Regions from separate parts of the Homo sapiens genome. Here region 2 is linked to region 1. The links are contacts of gene promoters, found by promoter capture Hi-C in blood cells and fetal thymus (Javierre and others, 2016). All regions are on one chromosome and are shown on one strand. The core of a region is centred on a gene start or on the middle of the fragment in contact, and the rest is flanking DNA. Distances in the headings are between cores, read along the strand shown. Region 1 holds the start of TRAPPC6B (trafficking protein particle complex subunit 6B). Region 2 holds the start of PPM1A (protein phosphatase, Mg2+/Mn2+ dependent 1A).

Region 1 (7,965 bases), core at 2,596-5,095:
CGAGACAGACACGCAGTCATGGTTGAGTTAGCCTCTTCACCTGGCCTAGAGCTGGTTAAGACCAGACCTAAGGGAGCGGCCCTGTTGTTAGTGGTGTCTGTGTGTGTTGTCCCGCTTCTGGTTCTGCCCTACCTGCACTGCCAATGTAGGAACTAGTTTTGTTCTATAAATATATATACAAATTGAAGCTCAGAAAACATTTTTTCACAGGCCAGGCACAGTGGCTCACGCCCGTAATCCCAGCACTTAGGGAGGCTGAGGCAGGTGGATCACTTGAGGCCAGGAGTTGGAGACCAGCCTGGCCAACATGGGGAAACCCCGCCTTTACTAAAAATACAAAAATTAGCTGGGAGTGGTGGTGTACGCCTGTAATCCCAGCTACTCGGGAGCCCGGGATGCGGAGGTTGCAGTGAGCCGAGATTGCACCACTGCACTCTAGCCTGTGCGACAGAGTGAGACTCCGTCCCAAACAAACAAAAAAACAAAACACTTTCCCACAGAAACAATGCTTTAAATAATCTCAGCCAGGCATCTATCTTCCTTGTACAAAGAATTAGTGGGCCCAGTGTATTAATTAACTCAAGCTACCACTTTAATCCAGCAATCTTTTAGAGCTTCCATTGTGTATCAGCAGTAAGCTAGGGTTTGAAAATAAAGCCTAGAACAAGATAGTTGTGATTCCTGCTTCTGTGGGGTTTGTAGGCTTCCAAAGGAGCAATGATCATTCATTAGTTCAACAAATACTGAGGGCCCACTATGTGCCAGGTGCTATTCTAGGCACTTGGGTATATCAGTGTACAATAAAGATCTCTGAGCAAGTCCAGTGGATTGTGCCTGTAATCCCAGATACTTGGGAGACTGAGGTGGGAGAATCGCTACAGCCCAGGAGTTAAGACCAGCCTGGGCAACATAGCAACGATCCTGTCTCTAAAAATAAAAATTTTAAAAATTGTACTGGAGAGGCTGAGGCGGGATGATTGTTTGAGTCCAGGAGTTTGAGACTGCAGTGAGCTGTCATCACACCACTGCACTCTAGCCTGGGCAGCAGTGAGACTCTGTCTCAAAAATAAATAAATAAATAAATAAATAGTATAGCATGTTAGAAAGCGGGAAGTACTATAGGAGAAAAAAATGTAGAGATGAATAATGGGGATGAAGATTGACAATTATCTAATTCTGATTGTGAGCATACTTAGCCTCATTGATCTTATTACAGGTCTGTGTACAACCTTAGGCAGTACCTGAGGCATGAGAGTGTGATAATAGTAGAGCGTATTCAGCAAGTGTAAGAATGTTTGCATGTATGGTCGGCCCGGTAATCCCAGGATTTTGGGAGGCCTTGGTGGGCGGATCACTTGAGATTGGGAGTTCAAGACCAGCCTGGCCAACATGATGAAACCCTGTCTCTACTAAAAATACAAAATTAGTCCTGCATGGTGGCAAGTGCCTGTAGTGTCAGCTGCTTGGAAGGCTGAGGCAGAATTGCTTGAGCCCGGGAGGTGGAGGTTGCATGCAGTGAGCCAAGATCATGCCACTGCACTCTGGCCTGGGCAACAGTGAGACTCTGTCTCAAACAAAACAAAACACACACAGCTGGGCACAGTGGCTCAAGTCTGTAATCCCAGCACTTTGGGAGGCCGAGGCAGGCGGATCACCTGAGGTCACGAGTTCGAGATCAGCCTGACCAACATGGAGAAACCCCGTCTCTACTAAAAATACAAAATGAGCTGGGCTTGGTGGTGCATGCCTGTAATCCCACCTACTCGGGAAGCTGAGGCAGGAGAATCACTTGAACCCGGGAGGCGGGGTTGCAGTGAGCTGAGATAGTGCCATTGCACTCCAGCCTGGGCAACAAGAGCAAAACTCTGTCTCAAAACACACACACACACACACCACACTCACTGTCCTTGCTTCCATAGGATCTATTCCTAGGAGCCTTGGCAATTTAACTTTATGGAGAAGGATAAGTAGGATGCTGTGTTCAATAGTTAGTAGGTCCTCATTAAATAAGTTTCCTTTCTATCCAGAAACGTACTTTAAAAGCCTCATGTTATTGTGGTTGGAGAAGTCAACTTTGATAAATTGGCCATTTACTTACTTTTTGACTTGTGTGGTGGACTTGGACTCCTTTTTCTTGATGGTAGTGATGAGGGCAAGAATGTCATCTAGACATAAAGGACCTGATTTCGCATAACTGAAAATTTAGTGCTGGAAAAATTAAGATTACCATGGCAAAATACTCTTCAAAATTACACAATTTAGTGTTTTCAAAGGCTTAAGTGGAGCTTTTATGCTGGATTTACGTGATGAATGGAATAAACTGATTCAAACATTAGAAGGGACATGCTTAAAAAAAAAACCTACCACAATTAAAATTTTGGAACATGATCTTAAATTCCTGTGAAAGGGCATGAAGAGTTTGTGTGTGTGTTTCGTTTTTTGAGACGAAGTCTTGCTCTGTCGCCCAGGCTGGAGTGCAGTGGCACAATTTCTGCTCGCTGCAACCTCTGCCTCCCAGGTTCAAGTGATTCTCCTGCCTCAGCCCCCCGAGTAGCTGGGATTACAGGCACCTGTCACCACGCCCGGCTAATTTTTGTATTTTTAGTGGAGACGGGTTTTCACCATGTTGGCCAGGCTGCTCTCAAAACTCATGACCTCGTGATCCCCCCCACCCCCCGTGCCTCGGCCTCCCAAAGTGCTGGATTTTACAGGCATGAGCCACCTTGCGGTATGTTAATTTGGGGGAAAACAACAGGGACAATTGGGGAAAAATTTTGTTTTGTGAATTACCAATGGAAGAACTAATCACAGGCTAAGCAACATGCTTACGGTTGAATTTGCCAAATTTAAGATGTACATACTATGATGTAGCATGTGTATTTATTTGCACATGCAGTGGGACAATTCCTACAGTTGTCTCACACTGCTGTAGATTATTAGCAACTCCATCCTGCAGTGACATCGCTTTTCTGAATTCTATAGCACTTTTCACCTAATCCTCTGATTAGTCTGTATTTTCCGGTTCAAGTGTATCTTGTTTTTCGTTTGCTCCACTTCCCTTGTCCCTTGCACCCCACTAACAGGAAAATTCCTGGTGGTCAAAATGGCTCTAATTCTTTTTGTATACCCGGGCTTAATTCAATAGGAATTGGGATAACTTTTCAATATTTAAAAAATTTGCACTGTGAAAACGTATATTTTAAACTCTTTCTACAACTTTTCATATTTGAAGAACATATGGCAGGAAGTGGATGCTTTTGATGAAGCCAAAAGAATTTTTTTAACTTCTATTGCTAATTAACAAGGAGGTGGCCGCGGGAGCTCTTTTTTTTTTTTTTTTTTTGAGACGGAGTTTCACTCTTGTTGCCCAGGCTGGAGTGCAGTGGCGCGATCTCAGCTCACCGCAACCTCCGCCTCCCGAGTTCAAGCGATTCTCCTGCCTCAGACTCCCGAGTAGCTGGGATTACAGGCATGCACCACCAGGCCCCGCTAATTTTGTACTTATAGTAGAGACGGGGTTTCTCAGGCTGGTTCGAACTTCCGACCTCATGTGATCCACCCGCCTCCGCCACCCAAAGTGCTGGGATTACAGGCGTGAGCCACCGCGCCCGGGCCAGGCGGGAGCTTTAGGTCTTATTTTATCTTGCTCTGCCCCCGACATCGTGGTGAGAGGGGAACCTTCCTCATATCTGGGCGCTGGCCTCTCCGGGCTTGGGAGAGAGGAACTCAGTGATCATAGAGCTGGCCGAATGCCGGGGTAGAGGGGACCGGAAGTTGTTTTTTTCGCCCCCGCCCAGCGGCCGGATCGCATCTCAGCTGGTTGGCTTTGGTTAGAGCTCCCGTCAGACTTTAGTTCGGCCCTAGGATTTGGTAGCCCCGAAGTGTGGGCTCTCTCCAGTACCAGACTCATTTCAGTACCAGCCTTTGGGAAGTCGTGTGAATACCTCGGTCTCTTAGCCACAGGGATAGAATGGCGGCCTGACGGAGCCGCGGCGCCGGCGAAGTCGCTGAGGCGCGAGCTGGAACCCCCAGACCAGCTCAAACGGGAGCCAAAACTCGAAGCTTGGAAGAATTAGCAGGAAATGGCGGATGAGGCGTTGTTTTTGCTTCTCCATAACGAGATGGTGTCTGGAGTGTACAAGTCCGCGGAGCAGGGGGAGGTGGTGAGTGCTGCCACACAACCTTGAGGTCCTTTTGCGGTGACACACCTTGTTTCCCCTCAGTGCTTTCCTTCAACCCCTGTCCCATCGCCACCCGACGCCTCCCGAGGTGTACACAAAATGGTCCACCTCCAGGTGTCCTAAACCCTAGAACCTGTCAGTTGTCTCCTTTGAACCGTCATCTTTCATCGTTTTCTCTTTCGTATCTTCTTCTATTTGATTCTCTTTTGTCTATTCCCGTACGTTTGTCTTGCACGCCACAGATTTTGGTACTTTTAGTGTTGTCCCTGCCATTATTTACGAGAGGGTTAACTGCAGAGCCTACTTAGTTTTGCTGGCACTTCCAGCACTTGAGCCATGCACTGGACAGACCTGTGCCAACCTGAGAAGCCTGTCCCTCCTTCCTCATTCCTAATGCTCAGTACAACTCCACACAACTTGAGACCTGAAGCCTAATGAAGGTTGAGTTTGCAAAGGAAAGTTTGCAGGCGTTAGGATAATTAGGGAACATAATTTAAATTAATTATTTCAGAAAGTATTTATTTAGTGCCCTTATGTCAGAGCGATTTCTAGGTGCCAGGGATATAGTAGTGAATGAAACAATGGCCCCATCCTTGTAGAGATTTTTTTTTAATCTAATTTAATCCGAAATGTGATAGTATGTAGCGGTTACTTCTAATATGTGGGAGTCCTTATTCAATCATTGTGGGCCTGTCACTGCTGACACTGCTAGATAAATTAAATAAAATAATACTCCTGCCTCACAGTATTTAGGGAATAGTGATTTAATGAATAGTTAACACTGAGTATTGGCTGGTAGAATCATGGAGTTGTAACGGATTTTAGAAATACTCCAAAGTCATGCTCAAGTCAGGAGCCCTTTCTTTAATGCTATTGATAAAAAATGAGTGGAGAGTGGGGATAGGAAATGTATCCTAGGCAAAGATAAAGTGGTAGAGGTATGAAAGAGTGGTGGATTTAAATACACTTAAGCATTTCTTTGGACTAGACTGAATAGAGAGTGAGAAGAATTGAGAGGTGAAGTTAGAAAGCTTTGTGTAATTAAAGAATTCGGATCTTTTCGAGGGAATATTTTTAAGGAAGGGAATGATGTGGACCATTTGCATTTTAGAAAAGTAATCCAGTGTTTGGGCTAGAGAGGGAAGATCCTTGTAGGGGGAAAATCCTTTATTACGGGAGTCACTGCAGGAGGAGATGAAGATCTGGATTAAGACAGGGATAGTGAGAAAAGGAGATAACAGATTTGAAAGTTAGAAAGTGGAATTCTGTAGGCCTTGTTTAAGGATGGGAGTGGGAGTTGAAAATTATCGTCAGGTTTTCAGCTTGAGCAGCTGGGTTGGATGGTGGTACTATTAATCAGAAAAGGAAATAAAGGAGAAGAAAAAAATAAGGAGGTAAGATAATGAGTTATTTCGGGGCAGGTTGAACTTTTGAGGTGCCTGTATGACATCCAAAAAAAGGTACTGCCAGTTTGCACAAGAAGGATAGGCAGGATACATTTGGAAGGTTATTGGAAATGAAGCGAATTCTATTCTTATTCAAATGACCCATCTATAATAGAGATTTTTTTCAAGTCACAAACTTCTGACTTTATTATTGACCTCAAGGTTTACTGTTTGTGCAAAGCTAGCCTTCCTTTTCCCTCTAGAACAGTTAACACACCCCTTTTACTTTTTTGTCATAACCCCCGATCCCCCCAAACCACTTGCGTATTCAGTTCTCTTCATTCTCCCCTCCCTTCTTACCTTTCCTCTTCTCTCTCTCTCTTTTTTTTTTTTTTTAGATGGAGTTTTGTTCTTGTCTCCCAGGCTGGAGTGCAGTGGTGTGATCTCAGCTCACTGCAGCCTCCGCCTCTTGGGTTCAAGCGATTCTCCTGCTTCAGCCTCCTGAGTATCTGGAATTACAGGTGCCGGCCACCATGCCTGACTAATTTTTTTGTATTTTTAGTAGAGACGGAGTTTCACCCTGTTGACCAGGCTGTTCTTGAACTTCTGACCTCAGGTGATCTGCCCGCCTTGGCCTCCCAAAGTGCTGGGATTACAAGCGTAAGCCACTGCGCCTGGCCCTTTTCTGACTCTTGTCTAGAATAATATTTTTTCTTCTTTTTAAAATATCTTTTTTTTTTCCCGTGGGTTAATCCTAAATAAAATGAACAGAGCTGTTCTACTCAGGCCTGATAATTTTAAGAGATGGACTAACATACAAGAGAAAGGAAGTTCATAGTTTTGAATCATTTAAGCTAAAAATAACTTTCTTTTTCTACTGCAGTGTATTTATGATGGGGGGGAAAATTGAAAGTACATAATAAGCAAAAATTATATAAATAACAGTTATGTGGTAGTCTTCATAATCAGAACCCATACTGAAATACGGGTATATAAGGGTTCACATTAGTGTCCATACTTTGAGTGTGCTTGAAATTTTTCATCATGAAAAATGTAAAAGATACATAATCCTGTCATCCAGAGGTGATTTTTAGAGATTTTTTTCAGACATAAAAAGATCTGTAAAAACTATGTTGTTTATGTCTGAAAAGACCTATAAAATCCATTTCTCGCTGACAGGATTATGTGTCTTTTTTTTTGTTTTTGTTATGGAAAGTTTTTTTAAATGAAATAAAGTTTTATAAATTTTCAGTATAGCAAAATAAACTTCCATAAGACTTGAGGTGAGATAAAAGAAAGAAACAGTGTTCTAACCCTCCAAATCAAGGTTTTTCAAACTATGCTTAAAGAGGAATTCTCTTAAAATGGACTAATTGGGCATTTCTCAATTTATGGTGAATGGATTTTGAAAGGCTAATGGATAAAATGTTCTCAAGTTGAATTTTTCTTAAAAATTTGGTGCCTACTCAAAAGTGCATGAACAAGTAGCAAAATTAAGTAGTAGGGCTTAATTCAAAAGCTCATGTGATCATAGGATTTGAAAGTGTCTGCATATAAGCATATTGTAACTGCCCAGTGGGTTCTTCTTCCCCACTGCCCAGGTAGAGCTGATCTATCAAGACAGGAGAATTGCAATAAGGAGTTTATGTAGAGCTGCTAAATGGGAGAGCAGAGTTTTATTATTGCTCAAATCAGCCTCCCCAAACATGCAGAGTCTAGGGTTTATCAAGGATAGTTTGGTAGGCTGGGGGCTGGGGAATGGGTGCTCCTGGTTGGTTGGGGATGCAGTTACAGAGGTGGGGGCCAGAGGACCAGTTGGAGTCATCCGAAATGCAAAAGTCTGAAAAGACATCTCAAAAGGCCTTTTTTAGGTTCTACAATAGTGATATTATTTACAGGAGTAATTGGGGAAGTTACAAATCTGTGACTTCCAGAATAATGTCTGATTATCATTTAACTACCTACATTTTAGCAGAATTCAGACCCCTCTCATAAGCCTAACCTTATAGTCTTTCATTAGTTTTGCAAAGGTGATTTAGTTTCGGGAAGGGCTATTATCATTCTTGCTTTAAGCTTACACTATAAACTAAATTTCTCCCAAAGTTAGCTTGGGCTGCATCCAGAAATGACCAAGGGCAGCTTGGAGGTTAAAGGCAAGATGGAGTTGATTAGGTGAGATCTCTTTTACAGTCATGATTTTCTTACTGTTACAATCTTTGCAAAGGTGGTTTCAATAGTTCCTGCTAATAAATATGTTCCTAGGTGATTCTACAGAGAGCAGATTATTCCAAAAAGAGCATCATGATTTACAGACACTTATTCTAGCTGAACTTGTTTTTTTGTTTTTTTTTTTTTTAAGAGACAAGTCTCTGGGTTAGTGTGGTGGCTCACACCTGTAA
Region 2 (7,965 bases), core at 2,666-5,165, about 21 Mb before region 1:
CCCCCTTTATCACATATTTACTCAAGGAAGCTTAAAACATCTCTAATATTATAAAAACTGTATAAGAGTCTAGTTTACTGATACACATTAAAAGCCTGTACCTTTCCTCAGTTCCTTACAAAAATTATAAAGTCTATTACATTTTAGATACAGGTATACAGAAACTTGCCTCTCTCAATTGCTTACTTTCTCTAGCTCTGACCTGCCTCAGCAAAAGAAAAGCCTGGTAACGAGATTATCTAGGTAGTACATGGATAGCCAGGACATTCAAAGGTCAAAATCATCAAAGAATATATTCTGGAGACTCAGAATGAAGTATAAAATTGTTACGTAATATGGAGAACATAAGACATTTGAAAGAGTGAAGGGTAAAGAATATAATCAATCTTTTGATTTTGATATAGGTTAACCCAAGTTTATTTCATATACAAATGGCTAATAATCCCAGGTCAGTTAATTTATATATCTTGGCTAATAGCAAAATAACAAACACAACTTAATTTTAAAATTTGTTATTTGAGATGGAAGACAGGACATATTGTGACATAAAATTACTTAGAGGAAGACACAACTTTTACCCAGTTGCCTCACTATACCTTCTCCTCTTCTCCAAGGTTTATATATTTCACAGGGCCATGTGTTGTTTTATCTTCTTGCTTAACTCTTATAAAACCCTGCCGTGGCCAATTTTCTTACATGGCCATCTCTTTCTCCTGATTTGATTAAGGATGGAAAGTATTCAAGAGTATACTGACTCAGAGTCAGGTGCCCAGGCAAGAGTTAGATAATCATTTGAGAGGATCATCAAAATATCACCTTGTTATATTATTTCTACATGAGCATAGATTTACATCTTAAAAAATTAATCCAGCTCTCATGGGTGAGTATTTCAGAGATAACAAGTTCCTTGTGGACATATGCCACTTCTTGGTTAAAAATTACAAATATGCACGCACAGTTAAACCAAAATCAGCTGTACATTCTATTAGCTATTAGAGTAAACAAATGGCCTAGATGTAATCTGAACAAACTAAAAGACTATAGGTATTTAGTGACTGCTCAGCAATATTTACCACATGACAAAATGATGTTGCTATAGATTTCTTTCAAAAACAAATGAGGTATTAGAGAATTTTCAAAGGTTTAACAAGACCCAGCTTGAAGTGACAGAAAAAACCTTCATAATGTGTTTTTATAATGTCCTTCACATCAGACTACCAAGGGTCCTGTGCTTGTTCAAACCTGTAGTCTCAACCACCCTTTGTCTCCCATGAAATCTCCATCCTCCTTCCTCTCAAGAGTTTCCCTACACATCCCAATCCCAAAAGAAAAATCAATAGCTTACAAGAACACAAGAACAGCTTTTCTAAAGAACCATCACCAACTTAGAATTTGTTAAATAAAACAGAACCGAGAAAGAAATCCAGCCTTAGAACACTGAAACATCTAAGTGCCTGACACATAACAGGCATTTATTTGGCAACGGTATGTTGACTAGACACACAATATTGATAAAAAAAAATTTTTAAATGTAGTAACTGGACAGTACATGTGATAATATAATCTGCCCAACTGGCTTTACTGATTTGGAAGCTGAAACTCAAAAGGTTAAAGGACTTGTCCATGGACACAGATATTTTGGAGCACAGCCATGACTAAACAATCCTTGTCTCCTACTGCACTGTTCCCTTCAACAGGTCATATACCTCAGCCCCTCATGTAAAAAGATACAATATGTACACAAAATACATAAAAAGATACAAGCCAAATAAAAAGCAATTTGATGACTATTATTTCTCAAATATAATTGAGGTAGTTAACTTCAAACATTATCAGTCTTAATACACCTTTCCCATAATATAATTACTTCACCGATCTAAAAATGTTTTATGATATCAAATTAAAATGTCTTAGGCAACTGCCATGTGCAGGAAGTTCATTATAGTTTCAATAATGTGGTACTGCTGTAAACTTCCAGGTTAAAAGTAATCATCCTTACATGACTGAAAGTTTAATCAGATACATATAAGTTACACATAACAAGAACAAAACTATAACACTAGGAAATGTTACTTTGTGCTTCAAATTATTTATTGGTAAAGAAAGCATTAAGTCAGTAAAAGCAGCATCTAAGAATAGAGAATCTCCTTATTTTCAATTTTCTCATTTGTAAAATAAGGAGTTACAGAAATACAATCTTTGGAAAAGGCCCAATATGTAGCAAGATAAAAGTATAAAAGTAAAGTGTTTCAAAGAGAGTTGGGGACCAAGCTATGCTAAATTCCCAAGTGCTCTGGAACCCTAAGTCTCAGCAGAGTAGTGTTTCAACAAATCCCTCCACTTTTCGGAGCGCAACACATGTAAAGTGGTTGTGTTTAAAACCCCAACGTGCAAGTTTGAAAAGACTGTTTTACAAAACAATTGTTAAAATGTCTAATTTCTCTCAATAATGTCAAAATCATTTCCTTTGAGAAAATGATACCTATCTCTCATACTCTTCCAACCACTTCTTAAAACACATTCAGCTCATTATTCCAATGAGCAGGAAACTTGCGGGGAGGTGGGGCTAGCACACAGATCCCATGGCTTGGACAACTGAAGCATGACTTTTGTGGATTTGTACCATGTGGTGTTTCAGGAGAGAAGAAAAATACCTCAGGTGATGAAATTTTCAAAACGTATCTAAAACTGCAGTTGGTAGAAGGCTCTCCACAGCCAGCTGTCTTTCAAGAAAAGGCTCCAAGTTTATTTAAAATCTACAAGCAGAACAGAACCATACCTCAACCAAGCTCTAACATCAAGAAGTTTTACCCGATTTACGTAGTTAAAAGGATAAGAAATCGGAATTTACTTCAATGGATTTGTTCGATGCCTTAATAATGAATGAACTAGAGGCATCACTCACTGACTTGAGTTCTGAAGGAGTCTCTCAGCCCTGCCCCCTGTAAAACCTTAAGCAATTTCTACAGAATTAGGTTTTTCGAGGCTAAGCCCGGTTCAAAGGAAGTCTCCCCGCCTCCCTCCCAGGGGCTGAAGCCCAGGACAGCCGGGGCGGCGCGCCCGAGCGGGTGGGGGCGCGGGGACGCCCCCTCCCCGCTCGGGAAAAGTTCTGCAGGCCGCTCTCCGGCCAGGCCGGCCTGCGGCCGTCGCCTGCTTCGCCGCCACAAACACCCATCTCGGCCGCGGACGGCCAGAGGGTCGCGCCCCCTCCCCGCGCCACCGCAACTAACACCCCGCCCCCGCCTCCCCGCCACCGCCCTCGCCGAGCGTTAACCCCTCGCCGTCCGCCGCCCGGCTCGGGGGAGGAGGCCGGCCAGGGGGTGGAGTTGTCGCGTCTCCTCCCGGGAGCGCCCGGGCAGACGCCCGGCTTGTTTACAGGCCCCAGGCCTGCCCGCCGCCGCCGCCGCGCAGGCCCGCACCGCCCGCCAGCCCGCCGTCGGCCCGAGCGCCGCACTTACCCGGAGCAGCCGCAGGCGGGCAGGTCCCTGGTCGGCCGAGGCGGCGGCGGCGGCAGCCGGGGAGGGGGTCACCGCGGCGGCGACGGCGGCAGCCGGGGGAGGGGTCACCGCTGCAGCGGCGGGCCAGGTCAGGCTGGGGAAGGGGCGGAGGAGGGGAGGAGCCGGGCTGCGTCCGGGCCCCCGGCTGTCGGCGCCCTCGCGGCTCAGATCATCCGGGCGTTGGAGAGGGAGGCAGAGAGCGGGTCCCGGAGAAGGAGGAGGAAGAGCCGAGGACTCATCGCTTTCGCGCCTCAGCTGTCTAGAGTCCCCCCACCCCCCCCTCCCCAACCACCCGTTCCGGAGCAACAGCCGCCTGAGGACCCGAAGCTGCGGGCCGGACGAGCGCCGAGACCACTGCTCTCTAGCTCCCGCGCGCGCTCCCGTCCCTAGCGCCGCCACCGCCGCCGCCGCCGCCTCTAGCGCGGCCCCGCGCAGGCGCGCTCACGACCGCGTCGCCCCTCCCCCACCCCTCCGCTCGCCCCGCCCCGCTGGCTCCGCCGCCGCTACAGCTGCGGCGCGGCGCGCAGCTACAGAGACCCGGATGTCGTTGGGCAGGAACTGCGGTGAGGGCTGGCGGGCGGGGGAGGGGCCGCCACAGATGACGTCACTGCCTTACCCAGCTTCTTTCTCTGCCGCTGCTGCTGCCGCCGCCTTTGCCTTACGGCCTGGAGCACCAGGCCGAAGCCGAAGGGAGCGTCCGGATCCCGGATAGCAGCCAGGACCCGGGCCTTCACGTTCCGGCGCCAGGGACTGGACAGAATGTGCGGCTATTAGGTGCCCAGTAGATCGACAGCCCCTCCGTGCCGGCCCTTGGCCAAGTAGGGACTCGGAAGCTACCCCTACGGCGTCCGCGCCCGGAGCCCTGGCTCTTCTACCTGCCTGCAGATACAAACCCCACTCCCTGCGAAGATGGTGTACACGCAGCCCCGAGCACAGACCCGAAGCTGTCCACCCTTCTTGGGCGCCGTCGCGGTCTGGCCGCTGCCCTTCGAACCCATGGTGGGTCCCAGGCAGCTGCCAGACCCCCCTACCCCAGAGTCCCACTCCTCCAGAGCCTTCCTCTCCCAGTGACCCCAGGAAGCCCAAGCAGGTGCCACGGCCACACACCTCGCGACCCAAAGGGCAGAGACACAAGCACGCTACCACCGCCCACCAATGTGCGAGTGCAACTGATTCACGCACGGGGCACATGCTCTGAGTTTCTGGCAGGTTTTCCCTCTATAGTTCAGGGGATTCCACATTGTATTTATTTGCACATGTTAGATAATCACGTGGTTCTGTCCCAGGGGACCTCCAACGACCTCCAATGAGGTAGGTTAAGGGAACAGGATTTTTCAAAATCAGGAGAATAATCAGAAACATAACAGCTGCTTCTATTAAGAGGTAGAGATGAGCTAAAGTTAATAGAAACTGCACGTGCCAGCGGCCAAAATCCAGTTTAGCTAGCTGGAAAACCCGACCCACGCTGCTTGCAGACGCCGGGGATAGAATGACAAACCCTAGGCAGCCAATGAATCGCAGCCTAGGAGCAGTACATCACCAGCACGGGTTCCCATTGGCTGGGGTGCCCTTCCCTCTCTTGTCAGCGGCTTAACCAGTTCACGAATTTGACCTACACCACATTCGCAGGAAAAGAAGTTAGAAGAAAAGTCCGTATTTTTAAAAGATGTTCTGATGCACACACAAACCAAAGACTTCATTGTAGAAGGCAGGTTCTTTTACTGGCCAAATTGAGTTCTGGCCAGTAAAAAAGGTAAATTTATGTTGAAGGCCTCTCTATTTTACTTGAGGAGCTCACTATAGCAATTTGCACCCTACTACTTTCTATCTCCTAAACCATTTTGTTGCCCCAACTCTTAGATCAAAAGCAACCTATTTATTCTTTCTGGCATTCAGCAAATATTTAGCTGCTGCTTTTAAAGTTGTAAAAAGCCATCTCTAATTTTCTCAACATGACTTTGGGGAAGGTTCTGTTTCCTTCACTTTTTTTTTTTTTTTTTTTTTTTTTTTTGAGACAGAGTCTCGCTCTTTCATCCAGGCTAGTACAGTGGCACAATCTCGGCTCACTGCAAGCTCCGCCTCCCGGGTTCATGCCATTCTCCTGCCTCAGCCTCCCGAGTAGCTGGGACTACAGGCGCCTGCCACCACGCCTGGCTAATTTTTTTGTATTTTTAGTTCAGACAGGGTTTCACCGTGTTGGCCAGGATGGTCTCGGTTTCCTGACCTCGTGATCCACCCTCCTCGGCCTCCCAAAGTGCTGGGATTACAGTCGTGAGCCACTGTTCCCGGCCAGAATTCCTTAGAAGATGATCGTGGATCATTTCCACATATACAAAATAAAAATAAAATTCACTATGCATTTGGTCTCAGTATCATCTGAGGATACATTTCCTAATTCTCCACATATCTCCCCGACCCCCCAAAAAAAGAAATTAGATCAGAGATCTTTGAAACGCTACCTTCTTGGAATCCTTAATACTCCAGGCAAGTAACAGCATGAGTAGCATGCTGGTGGACTCATTAACATTCTGAACTACAAAAGCTCATATGGCAACCATTTAGAGTGCTCTTAAAAGACAAATTTTCTTATTTATAAGCAGAAGCTGGGTCACTAGTGACGGTAGTGGACCATAGAAAACTTGAAATGCCTGCCTATCTTTCTGCTTCCTTCCTTTAGGCTTCCACACCTTTCTTCTCTCTGTTCTGCACTTGGAGAATCTGGGTCAATTGTAGAAGAAGAGGGAGAGAAATAGAAAATATGAACAGAAAGAAATTTTTAAGGAGTCTACGCATTGTACAGACTGCCGATAAAGCAGCACCTTCCTACTATTTATTTCTGAATACAGCTTGCAGGGACATTTTGGTATGAACTAGGAAACTCATGGGTTATAAGATTAATATTTTAAAAAGATATCAATATTGTCTGATTAAATATGTTTAATATCATCATATCCCCTTTTATTAAACCTTATGCTAAGAAGGGGGGACAGATAGAAGGGGAAAATAACATTGAAAAAAGAGGATTGAAAGTTCTCTTCTGAACTGTAAGACTTTGCCGGGCCTCTACACATATTTGGGATGTTCACAGTAAGATTTTAGTGGGAATATATTGCCATGATGATGACATTTTAGTAATTTTTATAGGTATATTATAAAACTATCCTGCTCTGCTTTGGAAATCTGTTTATATTTCAATTAACAAAGAAAAAGATTATCTACAAGATTGGCTTTAAAGTCCTGAATTTAGTGTGTGTTGATAGCCTAGTAATTGGGAGGCTTGGGGTGAGGACAGGGGCTGTAGTGTGGAGTCTAAAGCTTAATCTGATCAGCAATACTCTCTTTCCCTTTCCACCACAATTGTGACTTAAAAAAAGGTTTACATTCCTGCTCCCAAATTACTCTCCAGGAGAGTCACCCTTGAGGCAGACTTGCCTGGGCCTCTCAAAATATATGCAGTAATGTAAATGACCCCCTCAGGAGGCTAGTATTTGAGAATACCCCTCACCATCCTTTTCCACTGAAGCCAGTCACTACTCAAGAGTTAGAAAGCCAACCAGAACATAGGTTCAACAATTCCTTCCTCCCTCACTACCTGTTTCATATTTTTTTCTCTCACACATCCTCTTCATTTGGTTTCCTCTTTTCTCATTTCTCCTTCTCTCTCCTCCCTTTTTCTTCTCTTCTCTTTTTGCCTTCTTTGCCCTTCTCTTCCCCATTCTTCTTTTCTCTCTTTTCATTAGCTTAGTACAAATTGTAGCTTCTGCTACCCATTTTCTCCCAGAACAGAACATGCGAGCAGACAGTGCCCCTAAATGAATTTCATTCAGGGAGAGGGTGTGCCCCCTACCCTGGCCCTCCTTCCTCCCTCCCCTACATCATAATACATTATGAGAAACTTAGCTGCTTAGAGGACTGTTACAGAATCAAAAGGATTAGAGAATCCTGTCCTGTGTGACATCACTGGGCAGCCCCATTAGGGAGGGGCAGAGGGGAGCAGCCAGCAGTCTTATGCTACCACTGTGGCTCATCCTGCGACCTGAGAGAAACCTGGGCAACTGTGAGCACCAGAGGCCAAGTCCTGGACAGTCTTTAGGGTAGGCTTTCACCTCAAGATAGCCATATATGGCCACAGCCTTACAATACTAGAGTGGATCTTGTCAGATAAGTTCATCTGTTCATGAGATAGCTATTGTGCACCAAGCACTGTGTGGGACACTGGAGGTAGATAATGACATCAATGGGCAAGCCCTGCCCACAAAGAGCCAACATAATAATAAGAGGCATAGACAAATAAGTCAGCAGATAGAAAGGAAATTGCATACTGTTATCCATGCTGTGAAGAAAATAAATAAGGAAACAGATCCGGGAGACGACTTGAAACAGGTGTTCAGTGCAGACCTCTCTAAGAAGGCAGCATTTGATCTAAAGGATGAGAAGGAGTCAGCTTCATAATCAGGGGAGAACTTTC

Evidence for each region. Contacts are between HindIII fragments. The CHiCAGO score rates a contact against its expected background, and 5 or more counts as called.
Region 2: a contact is called between the fragment with the promoter of PPM1A here and the fragment with the promoter of TRAPPC6B in region 1, in 1 of 17 cell types (non-activated CD4 T cells). The highest score is 5.2, in non-activated CD4 T cells.

Annotation. Positions count from the first base shown.
Region 1 is chr14:39,166,213-39,174,177 of GRCh38, reverse strand. TRAPPC6B (trafficking protein particle complex subunit 6B) reads left to right here and starts at 3,845. Exons shown (of 6, transcript NM_001079537.2): 1 at 3,845-4,163. The coding sequence starts at 4,083. RefSeq lists enhancers at 2,618-3,207, 3,989-4,038, 3,798-4,387. The HindIII fragment of the contact is 6,900 bases long and covers 1-4,064 here.
Region 2 is chr14:60,245,171-60,253,135 of GRCh38, reverse strand. PPM1A (protein phosphatase, Mg2+/Mn2+ dependent 1A) reads right to left here and starts at 3,915. Exons shown (of 6, transcript NM_021003.5): 1 at 3,459-3,915. It overlaps LOC101927702 (a long non-coding RNA gene), which reads left to right and starts at 7,500. Exons shown (of 3, transcript NR_188027.1): 1 at 7,500-7,591. RefSeq lists silencers at 2,932-3,671, 3,872-3,971 and enhancers at 4,072-4,421, 4,482-4,531, 3,841-4,569, 5,112-5,361. The HindIII fragment of the contact is 6,782 bases long and covers 33-6,814 here.